Linked DNA regions of Homo sapiens: all the other regions are linked to region 1. The links are contacts of gene promoters, found by promoter capture Hi-C in blood cells and fetal thymus (Javierre and others, 2016). All regions are on one chromosome and are shown on one strand. The core of a region is centred on a gene start or on the middle of the fragment in contact, and the rest is flanking DNA. Distances in the headings are between cores, read along the strand shown.

The links. The method cuts DNA at HindIII sites, captures the fragments that hold promoters and counts their contacts. A CHiCAGO score of 5 or more calls a contact.
Region 2: the fragment with the promoter of STAR here is called in contact with the fragment with the promoter of NSD3 in region 1 in 2 of 17 cell types (activated CD4 T cells and naive CD8 T cells); the score reaches 5.8 in activated CD4 T cells.
Region 3: a fragment that was not itself captured here is called in contact with the fragment with the promoter of NSD3 in region 1 in 15 of 17 cell types (naive CD4 T cells, activated CD4 T cells, naive CD8 T cells and 12 more); the score reaches 24.6 in naive CD4 T cells.
Region 4: a contact is called between a fragment that was not itself captured here and the fragment with the promoter of NSD3 in region 1, in 10 of 17 cell types (naive CD4 T cells, total CD4 T cells, naive CD8 T cells and 7 more). The highest score is 8.6, in naive CD4 T cells.
Region 5: a fragment that was not itself captured here is called in contact with the fragment with the promoter of NSD3 in region 1 in 17 of 17 cell types (naive CD4 T cells, naive CD8 T cells, activated CD4 T cells and 14 more); the score reaches 34.4 in naive CD4 T cells.

Annotation. Positions count from the first base shown.
Region 1 is chr8:38,380,789-38,383,669 of GRCh38, reverse strand. NSD3 (nuclear receptor binding SET domain protein 3) reads left to right here and starts at 1,399. Exons shown (of 24, transcript NM_023034.2): 1 at 1,399-1,871. It also overlaps a transcript of LETM2 not described here. RefSeq lists silencers at 493-842, 1,033-1,182, 1,213-1,612 and enhancers at 1,261-2,051, 2,342-2,876. The HindIII fragment of the contact is 5,398 bases long and covers 1-2,881 here.
Region 2 is chr8:38,149,485-38,152,365 of GRCh38, reverse strand. It overlaps STAR (steroidogenic acute regulatory protein), which reads left to right and starts at 1,414. Exons shown (of 7, transcript NM_000349.3): 1 at 1,414-1,611. The coding sequence starts at 1,548. RefSeq lists enhancers at 895-927, 1,276-1,575 and a promoter at 126-1,441. The HindIII fragment of the contact is 1,310 bases long and covers 131-1,440 here.
Region 3 is chr8:38,190,261-38,193,141 of GRCh38, reverse strand. It overlaps BAG4 (BAG cochaperone 4), which reads right to left. Exons shown (of 5, transcript NM_004874.4): 2 at 347-454. Among named protein-coding and RNA genes, the nearest start is that of BAG4, 15 kb to the right of the region's middle. The HindIII fragment of the contact is 577 bases long and covers 1,108-1,684 here.
Region 4 is chr8:38,207,628-38,210,508 of GRCh38, reverse strand. BAG4 (BAG cochaperone 4) reads right to left here. Exons shown (of 5, transcript NM_004874.4): 3 at 2,743-2,881; 4 at 1,242-1,496; 5 at 1-501. The coding sequence ends at 16. Among named protein-coding and RNA genes, the nearest start is that of DDHD2, 23 kb to the left of the region's middle. The HindIII fragment of the contact is 6,479 bases long and covers 1-2,881 here.
Region 5 is chr8:38,237,916-38,240,796 of GRCh38, reverse strand. It overlaps DDHD2 (DDHD domain containing 2), which reads right to left. Exons shown (of 18, transcript NM_015214.3): 5 at 2,588-2,708; 6 at 433-522. Among named protein-coding and RNA genes, the nearest start is that of DDHD2, 7.8 kb to the right of the region's middle. The HindIII fragment of the contact is 2,409 bases long and covers 302-2,710 here.

The sequences.
Region 1 (2,881 bases), core at 150-2,649:
CGTGAGCCACTGCGCCCAGCCAATACTGATAATTCTCAGTATCTAGTATTAACCGGGTTACGTTTAAAAAAAATAGTTCATAATTAGTGCCCTTTTAAATAACTGATCTGTAGAAATCATTTAATTTCCTTAAGTGATATTTAAAGATAGAGATATCTAATTTCTTGTAATAGTACCAAAGACATCCAGCACTATAACGTCTACAGAGTATGACGTCTAGCGGTAAAATGGCTTTATTCTCAGAACAGAGTATCGGTTTCCTCATTTGCTTGCTGCCTCTGTTTCCTTTTTACGTTCACGTCTCTGTGCTGTAACCTTCCAAATCCTTATCACCAGGCCCCAGGAAATATCACCTGGTCGGCACACTCCTGCAGGGCCAGATCACTGTGCACACACTTAACCTTCCATTGTTTTCCATACGTTTCCTAGGATGCGGGGGGCTAGAGGATGACGGAGAGTTGCCTCCCGGTTCTTCCTCTCGTTCTTATCTTGGGCCCTCTAGGACAAATGTCCCTCACGTCCCTCGATGCGAAGGTCTGGCCGCGAGCAGCCGCGGCCTCCGGCACGTGACGGTCACGGAGCCGTCGCGGTCCCCCGCGGCTGGGGGGCACCCGGGGATGCGGCGGGCGCTGACGTCGTCCTCCCGGTTACCCACAAGCCTCCGGGCCGCAGCAGAGCAGGAAGAGGCGCGCGGGGCCGGCGCCTGCCGGGGAGGTCGAGGCGCTCCCTCGGCGAGCCGGCGCCGCCGGCCGGGTCTCCTACTGCTTGCAACCGGGGGAGGGGGACCATCCGACAGCTCAGCCGGGGCTGAGAGGGAGACGACGCCAAGGCGGTCTTGCATCGCCCCCGGCTTTCCAAATGCAGACCCTACCGGAACCGGAGCCCTTCCCTGACAGCCGTAGGACGGGAGACGGCCGAGGGGTCGCCTGGACTGCCCCGCCCTCGCGCGGTGACCCACCGGGGACCGTGCGAGGGTCGCTTCTAACCCTTAAGAGCTAGAGAGCCGAGTCACCCTGAGGAGCGCCGTATGGCGCTGGTTGCGCGTTGTTCTTTAATCAGCCTCACTGAACGCGCCGATCCCAGTTTTACCTCCCGGGCCCCACCTTTCCACGCCTCCTCCGGCTTCCCGGGGTGTTTTGTGTGTCACTCTCCCACGTACAGTCCCTCCCCGTCCCTCGTTCCTCGGCCCTCTCGCCCGGTCTCCCTAGTCGTCCAGACGCTAGCTGCCGCGGGCGTTCCTGGTTCGCGCTCCCGCCCCCTCCGCCCCGCCGACTCGCCGCTTCCTCCGGAGCCCCAGCGTCCCGAACCAGGGACTGCATTTCCCGGCAGGCGCCGCGGCCCGCGGCCAATGAGGGGCTGAGGATTTGGCGGCGGCGGCGCCCCGAGAGTCGGGGTGGGGGGGCTTTGTGCGCGGCGGCGGCGGGAGAGGCGGCGGCGGCGGCCAGCACGGAGGCGGAGGCCGAGGGGGCTGTGCACAGGTCGCCGCGGAGAGGCGTGCGAATTCCGAGCCGAGCGCCGAGGACCGTGCTACCCAGGCCGGGCTGCCAGCCGCAGGCTCCTCTCTGGCAGCAGCGGCGGCGCGGCGACCCCCGTCCCTCGGCCTCCCCTTCCCATCCCACCTCCCGAGCCTTCCTCTTCCCGCAGCACGCCCGGCCCGGCCCGGCCGTGGCCCTCCTCAGTGCCGGCCGCCATGGCAGAGGCGTCCGGCGCGGGGAAAATCTAGCCCGGGGATTTCATGCGGCCTAGCTCGGTTCCGCCTCCTCCTCGCGCGGCCCCAGCGGCTGCCCGCACCCCAGCCCCACTCCGGGCCTCCGTGTCTCTCCTGTGATCGCACTGACACGGCCGGGGGGTTAGAATGGAACAAACTGAAGGTAAAGTGCGTGTGCGTGTGTGTATGTGTGTGTGTGTGTGTGTGTGTGTGTGCGCGCGCGCGCGTGTGTAGTGCTAGGAAGGGCTGAGGAGGGAACGACGGGGAGGGGGCGACCTAGGGATGGAGCGCCAGACCCCAGGAGGAATGGAAGGGGAAGCGGGTGGCCTGAAAGGGCTCGAGGGGAGTCCTGACGGAGGAGCAGATGGCAAGGTGGGGGGTGTGGAGGGAATTGGGGGGTGGGCCAGGGGAGGTGGGGAGTGGGATGGGAGTCGGAGTGGCGCTGAGCTGGGAATTGGGAAAGTGGGATGGGGGCGGGGATAAGGATGGATCGGGGAGGGGCAGGGAAAGGGGAGAAGAGTTGCATGGAGATTACAGACCTGGGTGGACTGATAAATAGGGAGATTTGGGGATGGAGTGTAGGAACCAGAAGAGTCTGGGAGAAGGGGATAAATTTGCTGGAGAAATGGGGCATTTTATGGGAATGAAGGGAGAAATGAGGAATGGAAGTGAAGGAAAAGGTGGATTAGGAAAGGGGATGAGGCAGGCTGCAATAGGAGAATGGGAAATAGACGCAGGAAACTGGAAGACAGGATTGGGCTAGGGAAGGAAATTAACTGAATGATGACAGGGATGAGAACGATCGACTTAGCGTCAGAGTGGGAGGAAGAGAAGGGGATGGAGGTCGTTAAAGTGTTAGGAAGGGAGGCCTTTTGTTCCTGTATTTGTGTGTATTCTGTGTCTTTCTTTCAAGGCTAGAGAATAGAGAAGCTGGTGGTTATGGGATTGTGATTGTTGTGAAATGGGGAGGTGTGGGTTTTACTGTTTTGAGGGAGAAGGCGATGTGTTTGTGTTATGGAAGGGAGGCAGGGAGAGACATGGCCATAATTTGATGGTTTTGGGGAGGGAGTGAAGATTATTTCGATTTAAAGGGGGCAGGGGCAGCCATGTTTGCTGCCAAGGCACTGCAGTGTAAATAAATTCCTTTTCCTCTCCGACATCAGTATGAATCTG
Region 2 (2,881 bases), core at 165-2,664, 230 kb after region 1:
GAGGTTTCACCATGTTGGTCAGGCTGGTCTCAAACTCCTGACCTTGTGATTTGCCCGCCTCAGCCTCCCAAAGTGCTGGGATTACAGGCATGAGCCACTGTGCCCAGCCCATGCCCTGTCTTTTCAAGCTTTCTGCACATACCAAGACCCCCAGCCCAGCTCACTCAGACAAAGCTACTGGCGGGAAAGTGTGAGGAAGGGTGTGGGCGTGGCCCAGGCCCTCCTCTTCTCTCTGCCGTATACTGATAGGGCTGCCCCGCCCCCCCCCGCCCCCCCGCGACTCAGCCACGAGAGGTCATCCTTGCTCCAGCACAGACCCCTAAGAACCCTCACTCGGAACAGGACTTTGGGAAAGGTGGTTTCTATAAATAGATGAGTAAATAAATTGACAGTTGAATATACCAAGCGTCCTGGGGACCGCAGGAGGAACTGTGTACAGATGGCTTGAAGGCCAGAGGCTTGGGTTGTTGTCCTGGCCCTGCCACTGGCCAGCTGTTTGACCTTGAACAAGTCAGTTCCACTCTGTGGACTTCAGGGTCCTCACCCAGAAGAAGAGCAGCCATATGGTCTCTACTGCCTGGTAAACACCCTGGCTCACTCTCGCGAGACGGTGGTTCTCAAAGTGTAGTGTGTAGTCCACACAACACCTGCATTGCAACCACTGGGTATTTATTTATTTATTTATTTAATTTATTTATTTATGACGGAGTCTCACTCTGTCGCCCAGGATGGAGTGCAGTGGCACGATCTTGGCTTACTGCAACCTCTGCCTCCTGGGTTCAAGTGATTCTCATGCCTCAGCCTCCCGAGTAGCTGGGACTACAGGTGCCTGCCACATCACCCGGCTAATTTTTTGTATTTTTAGTAGAGATGAGGTTTCACCATGTTGGCCATGCTGGTCTCGAACGCCTGACCTCAAGTGATCTGCCCACCTCGGCCTCCCAAAGTGCTGGGGTTACAGGCGTAAGCCACCGCGCCTGGCCAAGGGAAGTTTTTTTCTTTTCTTTTTTTCTTTTTTCTTTTCTTTTCCTTCTTTTTTTTTTTTTTTTTTTTTTTTTTTTTTTTTTTTAACACAGGTTTCTGAGCCTCAATTCCAGATCAGCTGAGCCTGGAGTTTCTGAAGACAAGGGCTAGAAATCTGCACTTTAAAGTCTTGAAAACCACTGTGTGCCTTCATCTAAGCTGCCCCTGCTTCTCTCCCCTCCATCCCTCGCCTGGCCCTGTCCTCCCTACTCTCCCCTGCACCCTCCCCCGCCCCAAGCTCCCCACAAACGGCCAAAGCAGCAGTGTGAGGCAATCGCTCTATCCTTGACCCCTTCCTTTGCACAGTGAGTGATGGCGTTTTTATCTCCTGATGATGATGCACAGCCTTCAGCGGGGGACATTTAAGACGCAGAACACCAGGTCCAGGCTGCAGCTGCGGGACTCAGAGGCGAAGCTTGAGGGGCTCAGGAAGGACGAAGAACCACCCTTGAGAGAAGAGGCAGCAGCAGCGGCGGCAGCAGCAGCGGCAGCGACCCCACCACTGCCACATTTGCCAGGAAACAATGCTGCTAGCGACATTCAAGCTGTGCGCTGGGAGCTCCTACAGACACATGCGCAACATGAAGGGTGAGCGCTGCGGGAAGGAGGCGATGAGGGGTTGGCCAGCTCTCAGCGGATGAGGCTCAGGCCACCCAATTCTGATCCTAGTTGTGCCTCTTACTGGGTGAACCTGGGCAAGTTTCTTCCCTTCTTGAATCTCAGTTTTCCCCTCGGAAGAAGTGGGCTGGTTACTAAGATATATCCCTTCCAGATTCTATAATTTCTGGTCTCCCCTCCAGGACTCCAATCTTTTTTTCTCCTTTTCTTTCATTTTTATTCTTTTTCTTTCTTCCTTCCCTCCTTCCTTTCCTTTCTTTCTTCCTTTCTTCCTTCCCCTTTTCCTTCATTCGTTCTTTTTTTCTTCCGCCTTTTCTTTTTTTTTTGTTTGAATAAAGGTCTCTGTCACAGAGGCTGGAGTACAGTAGAACAATCATAGCTCACTGCAGCCTCAAACTCATGGGCTCAAGCCATCCTCCCACCTCAGCCTCTTGAGTACCTGGGACTACAGGCGTGCACCACCACAACCAGCTAGTTTTATTTATTTATTTTTATTTTTATTTTTTTTAGAGACAATGTCTTGCTATATTGGTCACGCTGGTCTTGACCCCCTGGGCTCAAGGGATTCTCCCACCTTGGCCTCCCAAAGTGCTGGGATTACAGGTGTGAGCCGCCACACCTGGCTTACTTTATTTTGAGATGGAGTCTCACTCTGTTGCCCAGCCTGGAGCGCAGTGGCACGATCTCGGCTCACTGCAACCTCCGCCTCCTGGGTAGCTGGGATTACAGGTGCATGCCACCACGCCTGGCTAGTTTTTGTATTTTTAGTAGAGACAGGGTTTCGCCACGTCGACCAGACTGGTCTTGAACTCCTGACCTCAGGTGATCTGCCTCCCAAACTGCTGGGATTATAGGCATGAGCCATGGCGCTCAGCCTATTTTATTTTTGAGGCAGTCTCGCTCTGTTGCCTAGGCTGGAGTGCACTGGCGCTATCTTGGCTCACTGCAGCCTCTGCGTCCTGGGTTCAAGCAATTCTCCTGCCTCAGCCTCCTGAGTGGCTGGGACCACAGGCGTGCACCACCATGCCTGGCCATCTTTCTTGAACTATTCCTGACTTTGCCTTCCTTCAGAGCTGGACAAGTCTTGTAGCAGGGGTACACAGGAAAGTCTTGCCCACAGTGGCAGAGTAAATATTAGACTTGACTCCCACAGGCAAAAAAAGACGGAGAAGAGACATAGGGGAGTAAGACAGGAGGGCAAGGTAAAGAGATAAGACGGAAGACTGATTATCATTGAATA
Region 3 (2,881 bases), core at 147-2,646, 190 kb after region 1:
CAGCCCTGCATGCTAGATTTAAAATGTATATATTTTCTGTACTTTTTATAATTTTAAAATATTTTAAATTAAATGTCTGTAATCAGTAAAGTTTTCAAAAATAAGTATATTTTATGTTTGTTCCTTCTGGGTCCTGGAAAATAATTTATTATGCCTCAAGCTATAGGTATATTTGCCTAGATATTTCCTTATCTCTGAGCTAAAAACATTAAGATGAGATTGATGGAGCCCATTAAAGCAAAGAAAAAAAACACACACTCATCACTGCTCTAAAATCTGCACAGGTTTTGAAAATAAATCTATTCATTAAGAAAAAGTTCAGAAAGTCTCTGTTTTTAAACCATACCTGGCCTTGCAATTCTGGTCTTACAGGATATGTACTTGGGTAAGGAGCCCTAGATCTCGCAGTAGAATTCCAATAGTTAGAATTGTAGCTAGGATATGGTGGCTGCTCCTAAGAAAAAAAGAAAAATAAATTCACTCTTAATAACATTCATACATCATTTTAAGATAGATTGATAGAGGCAGGTTATAAGGATTAAAAAAAAAAGCAATAGACAAAAAGCAATAAGCTGGGCACAGTGGCACACGCTTCTTGTCCCACTACTGCGGAGGCTGAGGTGGGTGGATCGCTTGAGCTCAGGTGATTGAGTCTAGTATGGTCAAGAGAGACCCCGTCTCTTAAAAACAAAAAATAAAAGAAAAAAGGGAATAGGACCCCAACTATAAAACTGCTAATTATTCAGTACATGGTAAATCAAATGCTCTATGACAAAACAATTATTACCTAGTAAAAAGCTGTTCTTATCTGTTTCGACAATGCCACCACACCAAATGCTATATAAAGGAATTCTACTACATCAAGATGATTAGCAAAATCAGAGACATTAGATCACCTCTATCCTTCTCCAATAACTAATCCTCAAGACTACTAATTTAATTAGTGCAACAAAATGGTTCTTTGCTACTGTTATATTTACCAATAACTTTGGAACACAAAGACATTACTACTAGAGTTTCGCTCAAGCACATACATCTTCAATCTCCAACTTCTTTGCCTTGACACACCCTAGTTTTTCATATTCTACTCTGTGCTATGGCTAAGCTTTCCGCTGGCAGCCTCAGTGTCAGGCATTGATGCAGAACATTTACCAATCCAAAGAGAAAATCTAGCTACGACAATAATTTCATCAGCCTTTCTCTCCAACTCAGAAAGTTAACGCATGATTTGCAATAAGCCAATAAACTTTGATAAAAGACTAAATATACTCAAAACTTCTCAGAGCACCTATTATCTGGTTTATTACATACATTTATTATCCTATGAGTTATTTTGCTTTCAACTGTATAGATTTAGGGTTTTTTTTTTTTTTTTTTTTTTGAGACAGAGTTTCGCTCTTGTTGCCCAGGCTGGAGTGCAATGGCACGATCTCGGCTCACTGCAACCTCCGCTTCCCAAGTTCAAGCAATTTTCCTGCCTCAGCCTCCTGAATAGCTGGGATTACAGGCACCTGCCACCACGCCCAGCTAATTTTTTGTACTTTTAGTAGAGACCGGGTTTCACTATTTTGGCCAGGCTGGTCTTGAACTCCTGACCTCAGGAGATCCACCCGGCTTGGCTTCCCAAAGTGCTGGAATTACAGGCGTGAGCCACACTGTGCCCGCCCAAGTATAGTTTTAAGCTTGAACAGGACCTTCGACATTTTTTCTAAAACTTTGAATATGATTTCACAAAGAAATTCATTGGCAGCTGAAATAACTGAGAGATTATCACTATTAGCTTAACTGCACTACTTATCCATTTCATAATACTTTGTTTTCAGTAATACTTTGAATTTTTTTCAGTAATCATAATTATCAACACTGTTGGTACTGTTTGTTATCTTGGTACTGTTATGCGGGTATTATAGTTGCAAATGAATACTTACATTGGTATTGTTGGGAATCAGTATTTTCACAATGGGAGATAGGAGACACAGATATAAGAATAATGAAACTTAAAACCTTATAATCCTTAATTTGAATTGTAAATATCAGTATGAATTCAAACTGTATTTTATCTTCTTTAAAAAACCACCAACTTGGCCAGGCACAGTGGCTCACGCCTGTAATCCCACCACTTTGGGAGGCCTGACGCGGGTGGATCACCTGAGGTCAGGAGTTCGAGACCAGCCTGGCCAACACGGTGAAACCCCGTCTCTACTAAAAATACAAAAATTAGCTGGGTGTGGTGGTGGGTGCCTGTAATCTCAGCTACTCAGGAAGCTGAGGCACGAGAATAGCTTGAACCCAGGAGACAGAAGTTGCAGTGAGCAGAGATCATGCCACTGCACTCCAGCCTGGGCCACAGAGCAGAGACTCCGTCTCAAAAAAAAAAAAAAAGACAACCCACCAACTTGGGCTGGGCGCAGTGGCTCAATCTGTAATCCCAGCACTTTGGGTAGCTGAGGCAAGAGGATTGCTTGGGGCCAGAGACCAGGAGTTCAAGACCAGCCTGGAAAATAATGAGACTCAGTCTTTACCCAAAAAAAAAAAAAAAAATGTCAGGTGGGCGTGATGATGGGTGCCTATAGTCCCAGCTACTCAGGAGGCTGAGAGGTGAGAGGCAGAGGCAAAGTCCAGAAATTCAAGGTTATGGTGAGCTATGATCTATGATTGTGCTACTGCACTCCAGCCTGGGCAACAGAGTAAGACCCCATCTTTAAAAAGAAAAAACCTACTGACTTGATAACCACACACAGAATATAATTCAAATAATTCTTGAACAGTTTTCTGAATGGACATCTTTAGTGGTACCTTTCTAAAAGCAAAAGAAATTTAAAAATATCTTAAACTCTTCATATAATGTTATTAGTAGTGATATTACTATCTTAATTTTTAA
Region 4 (2,881 bases), core at 125-2,624, 170 kb after region 1:
TTGTTCTAAATCCTTTCATAATCCTTTTTTTTCTAATTTTTCCAGTATGGCCTGAATCTTACAAACAGCCTCTTTTCTGGCCTGCCGTACAGAGTCCTGGCCCCCAGTTTCAACTGAATCCAGTTCCAAAAGTTCCTTGGTTAGCATTTCTTCCAGAAGCCAGTATGCTTTGTCTGTCTTTTTTCCTACAAATTCTTCTACTTCTTGTTCAAGATACTGGACCTTCTCCAGCACATGTATGATTTTTTTAATACTCGGAGGAGTACTTTCATCTGAAGGTACACATTCTTCAGGAAGACTGCTACTTTGATCTTGATTGTTGGGATGGTCACTGGTGGCATTACCATACAGCTGAGGCTCAGCACTATACTGGACTTGGGAATCCAAAAGATCTGAATCATCATTGTTCACTGTCCCCGAGGATTCGTACTGATGGACACTGCAAGGAAAGTTGTGCCGGTTCATGCTTTGATCTGATTGGCTATAGGGGTATGAAGAATCCTTGGAGTGGGAGAGCAAAAAGAGGAAAAGAGCTGTTTTAATGGGAATGCATCAACATCAAATTTGTTAGCCCACATCTTTCACTTGACCAGAAAGGTACATGAAAAGATTCCCTAACAATAAAATTGGACCCCTCTCCTTAATCATTTGCAAAAAAACACAGTCCTAAGAAGATAAAAGGGAGTGCCCTGTCAGACAAAAGGCACAGAATTTTTGAGTTATAATGGCTGGAACCTGCCCTGTGGCAGGTCCATCACCATGAGCACCTCATAGTCCATCCTGTGACCTAATTAATAAGAATTAGTTTTTCCCCTAAAAGGTTAAAAACCTCAAGCAAGGTCTTGAAAAGGAACACAGCCACAAGTGATAATGTTCAAGTCTGTGGTTTAAATACAAGCTCATGCTACAGATATTTCACATTGGTTTTGTCTTCTGTTCATAGATTATTTGAAGTAGTAAAATGCATCTTTGCATTTAACGTTTAGAAGAATTACAACAAACAGAAAATGTGTATCTTTCTGTCTTTTAACAAAAACGATGTGAATCTAAATCTTCTCTAAATATAAAGTCTATTAAAAAAAAGAAAAAGGAAACCGAGCTGAGGTAAAGCTATAGATAAGTAGTCACCAACTTTTTGTAATTAGTCCCCATTTAACACAAACCAGTACAGAAACTATATAAACCATGTTATGTTCTCCTAATTACACACACATTAAAGGAACAACATTTAGGTCTCCTACCTTGGGCTGCTGGACTGGGGGTGAAGGGGGTGACTGGGGAGAGCCACTGCTAGGCCATGGTGAAGTACTTTCAGTCATGTAGAGATTGCCGGGTGGTGCTGAGGGCGCTGATGAAGGCCAGGGATAACGGCCACCCATTCCATAAGCACCAGGAGAAGCCCACGCATCTTCTTGTGGTCGTACAGTCGGTCCTGATTGTGGAACACTACGATTACCATCTCCATAAGGATAATGGGGCAGGGTCATTCCAGGGTTCTAGATTGAGAAGAAGAAATATACCAGTCATTGTGAAAAACTTATAATAAAAATATTCTGCTACAGGCAGATTCTGAGATGCTTCCTCTCTTCTTAACAGAGTATACATTAGCTGCTACCGGACTAAACTGTAGTAAATCTAATTAATCAGCTGCAGTAATTTCTCCAAGCCTCAAAAAGTTGGTTCCAAAGATACCAGGGGTAGATTTAATGACAATAAAACTCAGAAGGAATAAGGCCTAAAAATTCAATGGATGAAACCCAAGTCTGTCCCATAGATACTATAAACAAACGGACCCATATGCTATAAGGAAGCACAAATAAAGACATGTTAGAACTCCTCTTGAAGTGAACAGAGAAATAAACATAGTTATTCACAGAATATTAAAAAAACATGAACCTGGCCAGGCGCGGTGGCTCACGCCTGTAATCCCAGCACTTTGGGAGGCTGAGATGGGCGGATCACGAGGTCAGGAGATCGAGACCATCCTGGCTAACAAGGTGAAACCCCATCTCTACTAAAAATACAAAAAAAATTAGCTGGGCGCGGTGGCGGGCGCTTGTAGTCCCAGCTACTCGGGAGGCTGAGGCCGGAGAATGGCATGAACCCAGGAGGTGGAGCTTGCAGTGAGCCTAGACCGTGCCACTGCACTCCAGCCTGGGCGACAGAGCGAGACTCCGTCTCAAAAAAAAAAAAAAAAAAAAGAACCTAACAGGGTGCTAAAAAAGGCTAAGATTTGCCTGGCACGGTGGCTCATGCCTGTAATCCCAGCACTTTGGGAGGCCGAGGGGGGCAGATCACGAGGTCAGGAGATCAAGACCATCCTGGCCAACATGGTGAAACCCCATCTCTACTAAAAATACAAAAATGAGCTGGGCGTGATGGCGCGTGCTTGTAATCCCAGCTACTTGGGAGGCTGAGGCAGAAGAATTGCTTGAACCCAGGAGGTAGAGGTTGCAGTGAGCCAAGATCACGCCACAAAAAAAAAAAAAAGGCTAAGATAGGGAAACTTTCAAGCAGCAACTCTCTAAAGATTACTTTCAGTATAAAAATTTATGATTATGACCTTCAGCCAAAGTCCATTTACTGCAATAGCTGCCACAAATAAGAAAGGCATCAATATAAAAGCCTTCCCAATCTAGAAGTGTCTTATTAAATCAGCACTAGTATGAACAGATGCTCTTCCACTGTTTACAAGAGGCAGAGACTTTGAATTCATTTTTTTCCCAATAGAAAACAACTCACCTGTGAAGGCGGATATCCTGGAACCTGCCCCCTAAGAGGGGGTGCTTCAGTCTGACAGTCCTGCTGGGGATAGATCCAACGAGAGACTGGAGTTGGGCTGTTGCCAGATGAACGGTAAGTACTTGGAACTTCTGTGGAG
Region 5 (2,881 bases), core at 257-2,756, 140 kb after region 1:
CCAGCCTAGAGGACACCTTTCAAAATCTAGTTATACTAATGACTTAAATCCTCCAATTACAATATCAAAGGTTTATCACAGTATGAATTACAAAAATGATTGATGCTTCTGTTATTCATTAAACTCTATCATCTTTATGGTTCCCTGTAAATTTGAAATAGTTAGAAATAGGACCACCACATCATAAAACACAATTTTATAGGGATTAACTGCTTGTTCATTTGAGACTATTACAATAGTTAAGAGTATAAACTATTAGACTCAGGAATTTCCTAGCACTTCAGGTCTAAGCTGAGAAGCTTTACTACCTTGCCACCTGTCTTTAACTCTCCAAATCTTCTTATGCAGCTAAGACAATAGACCAAAGACAAGGCTTTATCTCAGCTCACAAGAGCACTGATTAATATTCTCTCACATGCTTTGCAAACCTACCACACTGTACAATGCTTCGAAAGCGGAGATCACAAGCTGGTCCAATCCCATGGACTACAAAAACCAAGTGATCTATTTGTAAAGGTTCTCCTATAAATGAAATTAAAAAGAAAATTATTCTGTATAATTAGTCATGTATTCTAATATCATTCATCATGAAAAGGTTATAAATATGAGCAAGTTAAAAGATGAACAGATAATTTAAAAGATACAAAATAGTCCTTTAAGTACCTAGCAAAAATACACTGATTTTACTTGGTTTCTAATTTATCTTGAAATAAGTCTGTAAAATTTTTTTCAGGACTTTTTTCTTTTTTTTCTGATCTCTGAAAAAGAAAACTCGGCTGGGCGCGGTGGCTCACGGCTGTAATCCCAGCACTTTGGGAGGCCAAGGCAGGTAGATCATGAGGTCAGGAGTTCGAGACCAGCCTGACCAACACGGTGAAACTTCATCTCTACTAAAAATACAAAATTAGCCGGGTGTGGTGGCACATGCCTGTAATCCCAGCTACTCGCGAGGCTGAGGCAGAAGAATCACTTGAACCCTGGAGGTGGCAGAGGTTGCAGTGAGCCGAGATCACACCACTGCACTCCAGCCTGGGTGACAGAGCAAGACTCTGTCTCCAAAAAAAAAAACTCTTTTTTTTTTTTTTTTAAATTATGGTTTTTTTTTTGTTTGTGACAGAGTCTTGCTCTGTCACCCAGGCTGGAGTGCAGTGGCACGATCTTGGCTCACTGCAACCTCTGCCTCCCGGGTTTAAGCGATTCTCCTGCCTCAGCCTCCCGAGTAGTTGGGACTACACGCACACGCCACCACACCTGGCTAATTTTTTGTAGTTTTAGTAGAGACAGGGTGTTTCACCGTGTTAGCCAGAATGGTCTCGACCTCCTGACCCGCCCGCCTCAGCCTCCCAAAGTGCTGGGATTACAGCCGTGAGCCAACACACTTGGCCTTTTTTCAGGTTTTAAAAACTTTTTTTTTTTTTTTTTTGAGACAGAGTCTCACTCTGTCGCCTAGGCTGGAGTGCAGTGGCATGATAAACACTCATTCCAGCCTCAACCTTCTGGGCTCGAGTGATCCTCCTGCCTCAGCCTCCAAAATAGCTGAGACTACAGATGTGTGCTACCATGCCCAGTTAATTTTTGTATTTTTTGTACAGACAGGGTTTCGCCATATTGCCCAGGCTGGTCTCGAACTCCTGGGCTCAAGTGATCCTTCCACCTTGGCCTCCCCAAGTGCTGGGATTACAGGCATGAGCTACCACGTGCAGCCAGGTTTTTAAAACTTTTTATTTCTAAATAACTAGAAATGTACAGAAAACTAGAAAGCATAGTACAGACACTCCCACATACTTTTTACAGAGATTCAACTTTTTAACAATTACATTTGCTTTATGATTCTCTGTGTGTGTACACACACACACACACACATTTATTTTTCTGAATCATTAGAAAGCAGACTACATACATCATCAGGTTGCATGCACCATACCTCTTTAACCCTTTAATACCATAATGTGTATTTCCTAAGTATATTATCTTACATAACCATAATACAGTTATTGAATCCAGGCAACTGAACATTGATAAAATACTTTTATCTAGTATTTCATTTTTATCAATGTTTGGTATGTTTTTAAAGCCTGAAATTTTAAACTCATCTTTTTAAATTACAGTAAAGCTAGGATTTTGTCCAAGAGACAAGAAAAAAGGAATATTATAATCCAATTAAATATATTATAAAACCATAAGTGACCCTACCTAGATAGCAGTGCATAATCAGGTCCTGCTGAAAAACAGTTTTCCTTAGTTGAAAATCTTCAAGGACAAGGAGTTATTACCAGGTATAAATTTCTAGTCAAGTAGGTGGAATCACACTTCTTGGAATTAGGACTAAATCAGTTCATCTGTACTTAGTGACTTCCTGGATAGTATTGCCAAATTTTACCCATCCTACCATATGTTTTAAAAGATATTTTTACATCTATTAAGATTCTTAGTAGACGAAGTGATGCTAATCTCAACTTGGAATAAACCCATATGATTAAAGATGATTTTTAAGCCTTGAGGTAATCTAAATCCACAGAAAAAGGTCACAATTTAAGGAGTAAACAAATACATCCAAAGGTAAGAAAAAATAAACGATTAACATTACCACAATGAATGTCAACAGAGATGTTCTCAACTCCTCTCTTCACAGTTCTTGGTCGACCCTGCTCCGTGGGTGTTGAACCCCAATCATCAGACCCTGCAACTGGCTGGTAATGCACCATAAGCTTAAACAGAACAGATCAGAGCAATAAAAATATTCTGCAATACAATCATCTCTATACAATGCAGTTTTAAGTGTAGAATCATGTCTTTCAAACCACACAGTAAAATCTGAACTGGAGTTTTGATATACAACTCGTATGGCTTGAAATGAGAACCGTGAAAATATATTAGGCTA